Regions from separate parts of the Homo sapiens genome. Here regions 2, 3 and 4 are each linked to region 1. The links are contacts of gene promoters, found by promoter capture Hi-C in blood cells and fetal thymus (Javierre and others, 2016). All regions are on one chromosome and are shown on one strand. Each heading gives the region's core, a stretch centred on a gene start or on the middle of the fragment in contact. The rest is flanking DNA. Distances are from core to core; before and after follow the strand shown. Region 1 holds the start of LINC02901 (long intergenic non-protein coding RNA 2901). Region 2 holds the start of TULP4 (TUB like protein 4). Region 3 holds the start of SERAC1 (serine active site containing 1). Region 4 holds the start of ACAT2 (acetyl-CoA acetyltransferase 2).

Region 1 (2,700 bases), core at 60-2,559:
GTTCTTTTTGGAGACAAGTCTTGCTCTGCCGCCCAGGCTGGAGTGCAGTGACATGATCTCTGCTCACTGCAGCCTCTGCCTCCTGGGTTCAAGCAATTCGGTGCCTCAGCCCTGAGTAGCTGGGATTACAGGCATGCGCCAACACGCCCACCCAATTTTTGTATTTTTAGTAGAGATGGGGTTTCACCATGTTGGCCAGGGTGGTCTGGAACTCCTGACCTCAGGTTATCCTCCTGCCTCGACCTCCCAAAGTGCTAGGATTACAGGTGTGAACCACTGCCTTTGGGCCAAAAGTACTTAATTCTTATTGATGTCCACATTCAACAATTACTAGGTTTGTTTTTTCTGCATCCAGCTGCAAATGATCTTCAAAGTTGTGAACTCAGGAAATCTCAGAGGCGTTTATAGGCTTTCCAACCAGAGATGATATTTGTAATTCAAAGAAGTAAATAGAAATCCTTAAGAGAACCCCTTTCAAGCTAAGTTCCCATCTAATATGGAGTGGTGGCTTCGAATGATCCTTTTGGCTTATCTTTTTAAGTGTAAGAATTTTTGATGAATCACACTTCGTACCTATTTGGTCACTTTCACCAAAGTACAAAACCAGTCTGCCACCAGAAGAAATTTAATAACCTTGAGACTCAGAGAAGCAATGCTGCCTGATTGGTGGACAGCCAGACCAGTGAGGGTCAGACGTGGCTCTTCGGCTCCGGACACGGGAATGTGGTGGAAATGAGATCCTCCAGCGATTCTAAGGAGTGTTTTGTTCTTCTGGCTTAAGAGAAGGGCAGAGGACAGAACCAAGGGGAAAGAGAGACAGGCCCAGCCATTGTCTGACGTGAGGCACGATAACACATTAGAGGGCTGGTTTAGCAAAGGGCAAGGTAGAGTTGGCATTAGACGCGCTTGCAAAGGGAGGCGGGCAAGAGCTTCAAGACGCGAATGACACTTGAGCAGCCTGGGCTCACGTCTGGTAAGGTTTACGCCGCCTGTTCCCGCCATCTGGCAACTCCCTCCCAGAAGGGTGAGTTTGGTTCTTGGCAAATCCCCTTCGGACACACAAGCTCTTTTATTAAAATATAACCCCACTAACAGATTGCAGACTAGGCACAGAAGCCCCAAAGCACCCCCAGAGACCGCAGCAGTCCCGCCCCGCCGCCCCCGGATCCGCGCGGCTGCCAGAAGCTCCCCTCCCCCAGATCTTGGCCCCTCCCTGAGGCGCGCGAGCGTGTCGTCGCCCGCTCCCGGCCAATCAGGGCGCGCGACCAAAATAGCGCCATATAAAAGCTGGATGGCGGGCGCGGCCGGTGCAGAGCCTCGCGCTGGGGTGGGGTTGCGCGCGCAGGTGAGGGGGGCGGGGCCGGCGCGACCGGCGGGGCGGGGCGGACACTCCCACCGCGCACCTGCTTCTGCCTGACGTGTACCCGGAAGGTCGTCAGCTCAGGCTCCAAATATGTAACAGTGAGTTTCTAAGTGAGTCACACGGACGCGGTTGGTTTCCAGTGAGGCATAACTCATCGCTTCACTCTTCTCAACGGTTCCCTCTTCGGAAGGAAGCGCAGTCCGCAGCGTCGTCCGAGGGCGTGATCGCCTGCGTCGCACCCGCGTCTCCAGTGGCCACCCCTTGTCCTACAGGAACGCGCATCTGCTTAGCAGGCGCTGAGCCCTTGAGGAGGCCTAAAATGAATGAACGCGGCTGTGCCTCCTGAGCAGGCTCACAGTTGTGGGTGGGGGACAGAAGGGTGTCCATGCCTAAGGTCGACGGCGATAAGACAGACGTTCTTCCCAGGAGGAGATCAGTTCCAGGTGGGAGGCATTTCTAGGAGTCACCTTTCTCCGAGGAAGTGACCTGAGCTGTAGGAGGTGGAATCACAAAGGCTTTGGTGCCCTACACACCTGGGTTTTAGCCTCAGCTTGAGTCACTCACCCAGTCTGTGACGCTGAACACATCAGGAAACCTCAAACTTTCCCCATCTTTAAGATGCAGATAATAGCCGGTCACCATGGCGTGTGCTTGTAATGGCAGCTACTCGGGAGGCTGAGGCAGGAGGATCTCTTGAACCTGGGAGGTGGAGGTTGCAGTAAGCCGAGATCGTGCCACTCACTCCAGCCTGGGCAACAGAGCGAGACTCCATCTCAATAAATAAATAAATAACACTACATGACTGATAGCATATTTTTGAGGAGCATCTCTCCCCCTCCGTGCTTGGGTTTAATCCCCCCTTCCTCTCTCCCTCCCTCCCTTCCTCCCTTCTTTCTTCCTTCGTTACGTTTCTCTTCATTTCTTTTTTTCTCCATCATTCCTTCATTTTTCTTATTTTTTCCTAACTGATATAATTTACACACAATAAATCGCACAGAAATTAAGAGGACAGCTGGGTGAAGTTTTACATATGTATACACATGTCATTAGCCCCTAGGTCAAGATCTAGAACATTTCCATCACCCCAGGTTTCCAACTGCTCCTTCCGGTCAGTAGTACTTCCCCAGAGGTAACCACTATTCATTTGGACTTAAATTACCAAGTATGAGTTGTGTCTACTCTTAAACTTCATGTAATTGCAATCAAGCATTATGCTTTATTCCAAACTTGTCCAACCCGCACAGGCCACGGTTTTGAATGTGGCCCAACACAAATTTGTAAACTTTCTTAAAACATTGCGAGATTTTTTGTGACTTTATTTATTTATTTATTTTTTT
Region 2 (2,700 bases), core at 92-2,591, 560 kb before region 1:
TAGAGTCTTTTGCTGGGACTTGATGCTACAGGCCAGTAGTTCTCAAAGCCTGGTTCCCTGCCCAGCAGCATTAGCATCTCTTGGGAGCTTATTAGAAATGCGAACACCTGGGCCCTTCCCTTCCCTTTCAGTGTCCAGTTCCTGTGGGATGGGGCTGGGCCGCTTCAGCTGCCCCAGGAGACTGAGAGAGTCTGCTGAATTTGAGAAAGTCCACTCTGCTTTCTGGAAGGACTGGCGGGGCGGGAGGGCAGGGAGGATGAGTAAGTTAGGGACAGAGTGTTCTCGTGTTTGTAGAGGATGTGATGCAGCCTGGACTTCAGGCAGTAGGAAGAAGATGGAATGGATTTGCTAGAGACAGATTCTCTAGAACTTTATTGCTGGTAGACCACATAAAAGCTTAGAAAACAGCTGCGCTTTGCTCCGAGACCTGCCAGCCATCAGGGACGAATGAGTTTTAAAGGCCCTTACTGCTTTGTGTCTTGAGGGAATATCTTTTATTAATCGTGAAAAAATCAATCCAGATAACTTGCCTGAGTCATTTCAGTCTCCTTTTTGAGGATGCCTGCTTAAACAGCGACCATGGTCTCTGGAGGGGTAGAGTCTCACATTCGGAGTTCAGTCTCTTAGAAAGTACAGTTCAGTGTGGAAGAATGGCAGTTATGATTTCATTCAGATGTGCCCAGCTGCTGACAAATTGAATACAACGATCAGTGGCAGGCAGAACTCTCATTTGTTGTGTGTTGTCTTGAGTCTGGTGAGGTGTATCCTTTCACTATTGGATTTTACCATTCAGTGCAGTCAGTAGCTCCATTTGATGTAAGTGTAAAGATGGGTCTCTCATTTCAGTTTCAGCAATTATTCTTAAAACCTTTATTTTCCAGTGTTTTAAAGTTTTTAAATTTTATATCTTTTTTTTTTTTTAAACAGATTTGTAAGACTCCAGGGCCTCCCAGCCGTGAATAATCTGATGGTTCCTGAAATGACTGGGGAAGCAGACGCTTCGTATGGCAGTTGAAGAGTGTGTGTCTATGTGCATTTAAAACCTTCTTTCTGTACTTACACATTCACACGGGAAGACAGGCTCATTCTTGTGCACACTTGAGAGTTTTACAACTGATGAAAATTAATTTAAGAATCAGATGGAGCAACTTGACACCAGTGGGCTCAGGAGCCCGGGGAGAAAAATACATCACTAATGGCCAGTTTTCCATATGGTCTGCACGGGTAAAGAAAGTCTGCAAAAAGAAGAAAAAAAAATTTGCGCAGATTAAACCACAAAAATATTCTCCAGTTTAAAGAAGGAACTAAGTGAGAAGGTGACTGAGAAAGAAGTGTGATTTCAAACATTGCAGCGGCTCACACAGTGTTTGTTGCACTTTATTTTTCAGTGGGTTTGGTGATTTGGACGGATTAAAATTCTAGACTGAAAAGTAACTCCTACTGTGGTTATGGCTAGAGGAAAGCAAGTTCAAGTATGATGGGACAAGTTTGAATAATGAACTGATTCCTTTGCCTATCTTAATTAACTGTATTTGAGAAATTTTAATTTATTATTCCCCCCCTTTTTTCCTGCATCTATAGGATAATATTGTAAAATAGCAATTGAAACCAATAATTATTAAATAAATATCAAGGAAAATCCAAGCAAAGCTTTCTTTTTGTTGGACTAGTGGTGTGGTGTTTGGAGACAGTCTCTGAATGTGAACAGGAAAGCACCCATCAGCAAAACACTATCACTCTCTAGGGAGACAGCTGGGGGAATCTGACTCTGGCTTCTGCTTTTGTTTTAAGGGATTAACTTCCCTGTCAAGTCCAAGAAGACTTGCGTATGAGAAGATTACCTGATGGACTTAATTCTAAGATTAGCTTTTTTCATCAAGATGGAAAAAGATCTTTAGGAGCAGAAAAGGGGAGTGCTAACTGGGGGAGCGAGAAGGGAGACGAGCAAAAGAAACAAAATCTTGCCACGTGGCTCTGTTTTGTCAGCAAGAGGATTTAAGACTCACCCAGGGCAAACACTGGGACCACTGTAAGAGCGCTGGAACATTCTGCCTCTTGAGTGAAGGGGCCTTCTTTCTAGCCTCTATGGCACTGAGGGGTGCGCCGGCTGGTGGAGGAGCAGTCCGATGGAGCCCTGCGTTCCCCGGGGACACAGGGCCAAGCTTTGAGGTGGAAAGTTTCTGGTTCTGAAACAACAAGGAGAGAGTCTGTTTTTCTTCCTAAAATTTGGACTCTTGTCTGCACAAACTCTGGTCTGTTTTGCACGGTTTGTGTGCCTTTTTTTCCCTTTATGCAATCTTTTTCAGCTTTAGCAGCAGAAATTTGTCTAGTTCAGGAAACATGCTAGAGGGTGGCTTCAGAAGGAAGATGATCCTGTGTATTCTGTCTCTGCATCCGAACTTTTGAAGAGAAAAATTCGAGCTAGAGGGATTCTTAAAGCCTTAAGTTACTTGAAATCTATGTATTTGCAACCCTTTGTCTCTGGAATCATATTACACTAAACTGGAATCTCAGGCTGAATGAGAATAACCAAGTGGAGTAAAAAGAAGAAAACCGTTTCTTGATCACCACTTAATTAACGATGCTCTTTCTCCAAAGGATCAGCACGTTCTTCCTCTGAGAACTTGAAAATACAAATGGACCCCATGTTTTTTTAAGCATTACCTTTTCTTAGAAGACTGCCATCATCTTTTATAGAGG
Region 3 (2,700 bases), core at 64-2,563, 700 kb before region 1:
TGTTCACCATTGTATCCCAAGCGTCTAGAATAATAGCTGACACACATCAAGTGCACAAAAATGGAACTGATGAGATCAAGGAAGAGAATGTATGCAAGATGAAAAAAAGCAAATAAAAGATACTTGGGAAGAAGAAGACTTGGAGGCAATTTTTTTATTTTAAAGAGAGTGCAACAATATGGAAATCACCAGTTGGAAAAGATTTGAGGGATAGAAAGAGGGAACTAAATGGAAGAGCTGGGTTCCTTAGCGATCACATGAACACACACGATGTTAAAAAAAAAAAAAAAAAAAAAAAGGCAGCATGAGGTCGGGCGCGGTGGCTCACACCTGTAATCGCAGCACTCTGGGAGGCCGAGGCGGGGGATCACCTGATGTCAGGAATTCCAGACCAGCCTGGCCAACATGGACAAACCCCGTGTCTACTAAAAATACGAAAATCAGCCGGGCGTGGTAGCGCACGCCTGTAATCCCAGTTACTAGGGAGAATGAGGCAGGATAATTGCTTGAACCCAGGAGACGGAGGTTGCAGTGAGCCCAGATCGCGCCACTGCACTCCAGCCTGGCAGACAGACCGAGACTCCATCTCAAAAAAAAAAAAAAAAAAGGCAGCATGAGCTTAATGCGGGAAGTACAATTTAACCTAAGGAACAGAAAACAAGAATCTCATATCTCAACTAGTAAAAATAATGACAGTGTTCCTTTAGACTTACAGAACAGACTTGGGGAAAGGGAGTAACTTTAGAACCTTCTGGGGTCTTTCACTTTAAAATGACCGTTGCCGAGTTTAGAGCTCTCTCAGCATTCAATCTATTCCATCTCTGGGGTTAGAGAGGGAGCAGGAAGCGGTGGTCTGCAAGGCTCAGAAGTGACTGGTGAGGCCCTTTCCTCCTCCTCCTCATCTCTCCGTGACTACCGAGCCCGGGAAGACGGACCGGCAGGTGCACTCCCCAAGGCCTCGACAGCAGCCAGAGAAAGGCAGCGACAGGGAAAGACGAGTCAGGCTCGCGACCACCAGAGAGAGAGGCCCTCACGCCCAGCCGAGCGTCAGCTGGTCGGTCCGGTCCGCGCGCCAGACGGCGGTGCTCGGCCGTGCCCGGTCCCTGCCCTCCCCATTCTCCGCTCCCCACCGCGCCCAGCTGCGCCGACGCCCCCGTCCGCCCCCACACCACCCCTGCCTTCACGTCCTACCTGCCGGCAGGCGGACTCAGCCCGTGCCCAACTGCTCGTCGGACCCCGTTGTCTGGGGAGCCCTACTCTTTCCGCGGCTCCCGGCCGGGACCCTCCACCCGGCGGCTGGCGGCTCGTGACCCCGCCCCCTCGGCCCGCTCTGGGCCCGCCTCCCGCCGGCTGGCTCCACCCACAATAGCGTCCCTAGCGCGATGGCGTATCGGCGCAGGCGCACTCTGCCGGCAACGCCGAGGCGCTTCTGCATCTGTGGGCCGAGGTGTGTGGCGAGCGTCCGAGCGGCTGGGGAAAGTGGGGTGTGGGAACACTGAGGGGTCCCAAAGAAAGGGGAGAGGAAGAGAAAAGCCCCAGAAGCCTGTCCACCGGGTGCTGGGGGCACAGGGCGGTGTCCCCCACTCTCTCCGGGCCCTTCCTGGCGGGGCCGCACGGCAGTCCCCCCCTCGTTTAATCGTGGGTTTCCTGTGGGGCTAGGGCTCGCCCTGCGCCCAGGTGTAAGTGGAAGTTAATTAAATGGGCGTACGCTGAGTGGTTTGTTTCCAGCCTAGGTCCGCACGGGACGTGATTTATTTAGTGAAGGGGCACAAGATCTGGAGATCTGGCTTGTACTTTTTTCCTTTGGCCAGGAACTACGGCTTAATCTCTTCCTTTGGTCTCCTCATATGTAAAATGAGGTGGCTGAGGCCGGGCGCGGTGGCTCACGCCTGCAATCCCAGCACATTGGGAGGCCGAGGCGGGCAAATCACTTGAGGCCAGGAGTTCGAGACCAGCCTGGCCAACATGGTGAAACCCCGTCTCCACTAAAAATACAATAAATTGGCCTGGCGCGGTGGCTCACACCTGTTGTCCCAGCACTTTGGGAGGCCGAGGTAGGTGGATCATTTGAGATCAGGAGTTCGAGACCAGCCTGGCCAACATGGTGAAACCCTGCCTCTACTAAAAATACAAAATTTGGCCTGGCGTGGTGGCGGGCGCCTGTAGTCCCCGCTGCTTGGGAGGCTGAGGCAGGAGAATCGCTTGAGCCCGGGAGGCAGAGGTTGCAGTGAGCCGACATCACGACACTGCGCTCCAGCCTGGGCGACAGAGTGAGACTCTGTCTCGAAGTGTATATATACATATATATATATTATATATGTATTTTATATATAATATATATTTATTTTATATATAATATATAATATGTATATTATGTATATTATATATAATACGTATATTATATATAATACATATATATAATATGTATATTATATATTATATATAATATTATATTGTATATTATATATTATATATAATATATTGTATATTATATATATTATATATTATATATATTATATTGTATATTATATATAATATATTGTATATTATATAATATATTGTATATTATATATAATATACAGTATATTATATATAATATACTGTATATTATATATAATATATTGTATATTATATATAATATATTGTATATTACATATATTGTATATTACATATAATATATTGTATATTACATATATTGTA
Region 4 (2,700 bases), core at 36-2,535, 890 kb after region 1:
AAAGACTCAGAAGTGGCCAGGGAGTAAGGGGAAAATGGGATAGAATAGAGCAAAAGCCACGGGAGGCATTCCTTGAATTCCTTGGACTCAGATATGTTAGGGGACAGGAAACACATTGAAGACAACTGAAGAGACTTCAGTGTGCTGCTGAGTTCTTAGCAGAGTAGACAGCTGATTTCACCACTATTCCAGACCCTAAAGATTTCTCCTGAAATTGCACTGTTATGCAATTTTTTTCCTTCTCTATTGCCCCACCTCTGGGGCCTACACTCTTTACCTTCTCTGATTTATCTGACCCATCCGCATATCTCTGCAAAGTCTTAATGTAGGTTTCCAGGATTTAATGATTCTTTCAATCAACTTTAAAGTTCTTCAGGAAGATTCTCCAGGTCCGTCAACAGTTTTCCCCTTCATGACTTTGTGACAAAGCTTTCTTGTTCCACTATCCAGGTGTTCCCAACAAGTTGCTGTAACGGTGGCCCCTCATAAGCTTGCCTGGAAACCCTAGAAAGCTCAGAAAAATTATGAACTTTGCCCAGTAAGAGGCTGGGAAGTCAGAAAGGGTTTTAAACAAAACTGACCCCACTTGTTACATGCTCCTTTCACTGTCCAAACGTCAACCAAAGGAACTTTTGTGACGCTAAGACGCTCCCGGCGTCCTCACCCGTTCACAGCCAGAGTTGATCTTAGAAGGCAGGGGGCTCGCACCGAGACGCTCCTAGCAAGCCCCTCACGCGAGCGAATGACTGGCGCCAGGAGAAACGCATAGGACCTCCCGAAGCCGCCGAGAGCAAAAGGACCCATCAGAGCTGTGCTGAGACCCGCCGCGGGCCGGGCTCGCACTCGAGATTCTCGCCCGTGGGATTCCAGTCCTGAGCTGAACGAGAGATAAGTCTTTGTCACCCCCCAGTCTTTACTGTTTCGAGAAACCCTAAGATTTTTTAAAAAAAAGCCCAAGACGTCAAGTCGGGGAACTCCAACATTGGGGTGTCCAGAAACACTGGGGTTTCAGGCGCTCTGTAAATGCGTCCGAGGTCCGCGGTTCTGCCCGCAAGCCCAGACCCCGGCCTCACTTCCGCCCCGCGCCCCGCGCCCCGGCCTCACTTCCGCCCCGCGCCCCGCGCCCCGCGCCCCGCGCGCCTCCGCCCGCCCCTGCTCCGGCCTTGCGCCTGCGCACAGTGGGATGCGCGGGGAGGTGGTGCGCGGGGAGGTGGAGGGCGAGGGGCGGGGCTACCTCAGGTCCCGCCCGCGGCAGGCCTGTGGGCTGCGAGGAGGAGCTTTGCCTAGCTTGCAGGCAGCGCAGGGCAGACGGCGGCAGGAGAAGCAAGATGAATGCAGGCTCAGATCCTGTGGTCATCGTCTCGGCGGCGCGGACCATCATAGGTGAGTGGCCGGCGGGAGCCGCGCAGAGTCCGAGGCGCCTGCTGCTTCGGCAGGAGCGCCGAGGGCCGGACTTGTGTAGGAGAGGGGCGTATGTGGAGGAAGCCGGTCAGGCCAAGCCGCGAGGAGCCGCGGGATCCCTGGAACCCTGCGGCTCCCGCGTTCCCTGACCTGGTGCTACAGCCCCACCCTCTCCTCTCCCGATGTGCGCACTCCGTCCCTCGTGCTTGGATTGGCTCCCGGGGTAGAGCCATCGCGTGGCCTGCCTCTCCCATTGGTTGGCGTAGGGAGGTGTTCTCCTCCGGGGCCCCTGATTGGCCGGCTCCGGGAGGCGCCATCGGTAATGCCTGCGGCAGGGGCGGAACTGCTAGGTGGTCTGAGCCCGGCTTTGGGCTGGGGTCGGGCTGTCACACAATGGCTAGAAGTCGTGACTTCGTCTCCTTCGTGCCGCATGGTTTTCAACGCCCTTGACCCGCCGGTTCCTTTTGTTTGGGAAGCATGGGGTCGCATCCAGTCCTTCGGATTTGGGGAAATAGAAGGGCTACAGCGGCGTCCCTAGGCCGTTCTGGAGGTCGCCTGTCCAGCCCTCGGCTGCTGCGAGTTGTGGCACCCACCTTGACCTTTGCTCAGACCAGCAGGTGTAGGAACGTGTGGGAGGAGAGGGCACTGCCTCCTCGCGTGGCCTTGCCAAACAGGGTCATGAGGCTCCCCTGCTCGTAGGTGGTTCCCGTATTACCCGCAGGCTTGTGATGTCCACGCTCTCCGCCTTTCTATTGTAGGTTCCTTCAATGGTGCCTTAGCTGCTGTTCCTGTCCAGGACCTGGGCTCCACTGTCATCAAAGAAGTCTTGAAGAGGGCCACTGTGGCTCCGGAAGATGTGTCTGAGGTCATCTTTGGACATGTCTTGGCAGCAGGTAAGTCTCAGTGATTCCAGGAGAAGTCAGGCTTATTAGAAACAGCCCATAAACACACACACACACACACACTCTCACACACTCACACACTCTCTCACTCACTCAAGTTCTTGCCTCCTTGCTTTTGCTCAGAGTTCCCTCTGTTATGATTCCTCCTGTTGGCCCCCTTCTTCCAGCCCTGTCAGTAGCTTCTATCCAGCTTGAGACTCAGCTTCTTGGCCAGGCAGGGTGGCTCCCGCCTGTAATCCCAGCACTTTGGGAGGCGGAGGAGGAAGGATCACTTGAGTCCAGAAGTTTGAGACTAGCCTGGGCAACAAAGCAAGACCCCGTCTCTACAAAAAATAAAATAGCCAGGTATGATGGCCTGTGCCTCCCAGCTACTGGAGAGGCTGAGGTGGGAGGATCA

The links. The method cuts DNA at HindIII sites, captures the fragments that hold promoters and counts their contacts. A CHiCAGO score of 5 or more calls a contact.
Region 2: a contact is called between the fragment with the promoter of TULP4 here and the fragment with the promoter of LINC02901 in region 1, in 2 of 17 cell types (activated CD4 T cells and fetal thymus). The highest score is 7.0, in activated CD4 T cells.
Region 3: a contact is called between the fragment with the promoter of SERAC1 here and the fragment with the promoter of LINC02901 in region 1, in 1 of 17 cell types (fetal thymus). The highest score is 7.5, in fetal thymus.
Region 4: the fragment with the promoter of ACAT2 here is called in contact with the fragment with the promoter of LINC02901 in region 1 in 3 of 17 cell types (naive CD4 T cells, fetal thymus and erythroblasts); the score reaches 5.5 in naive CD4 T cells.

What each region holds. Positions count from the first base shown.
Region 1 is chr6:158,868,505-158,871,204 of GRCh38, forward strand. LINC02901 (long intergenic non-protein coding RNA 2901) reads left to right here and starts at 1,310. Exons shown (of 3, transcript NR_160980.1): 1 at 1,310-1,473. RefSeq lists enhancers at 284-956, 957-1,629, 1,530-1,699, 1,630-2,303 and a silencer at 1,130-1,449. The HindIII fragment of the contact is 6,622 bases long and covers 1-2,700 here.
Region 2 is chr6:158,311,124-158,313,823 of GRCh38, forward strand. TULP4 (TUB like protein 4) reads left to right here and starts at 1,342. Exons shown (of 14, transcript NM_020245.5): 1 at 1,342-2,700. The HindIII fragment of the contact is 1,254 bases long and covers 395-1,648 here.
Region 3 is chr6:158,166,949-158,169,648 of GRCh38, forward strand. It overlaps SERAC1 (serine active site containing 1), which reads right to left and starts at 1,314. Exons shown (of 17, transcript NM_032861.4): 1 at 1,192-1,314. GTF2H5 (general transcription factor IIH subunit 5) reads left to right here and starts at 1,402. Exons shown (of 3, transcript NM_207118.3): 1 at 1,402-1,447. RefSeq lists silencers at 1,112-1,181, 1,222-1,401. The HindIII fragment of the contact is 13,828 bases long and covers 1-2,700 here.
Region 4 is chr6:159,760,760-159,763,459 of GRCh38, forward strand. ACAT2 (acetyl-CoA acetyltransferase 2) reads left to right here and starts at 1,286. Exons shown (of 9, transcript NM_005891.3): 1 at 1,286-1,383; 2 at 2,160-2,294. The coding sequence starts at 1,329. SOD2-OT1 (SOD2 overlapping transcript 1) reads right to left here and starts at 1,573. Exons shown (of 2, transcript NR_037166.1): 1 at 1,235-1,573; 2 at 1-877. It also overlaps a transcript of SOD2 not described here. RefSeq lists enhancers at 539-598, 2,667-2,700 and silencers at 1,029-1,088, 1,109-1,258. The HindIII fragment of the contact is 5,525 bases long and covers 489-2,700 here.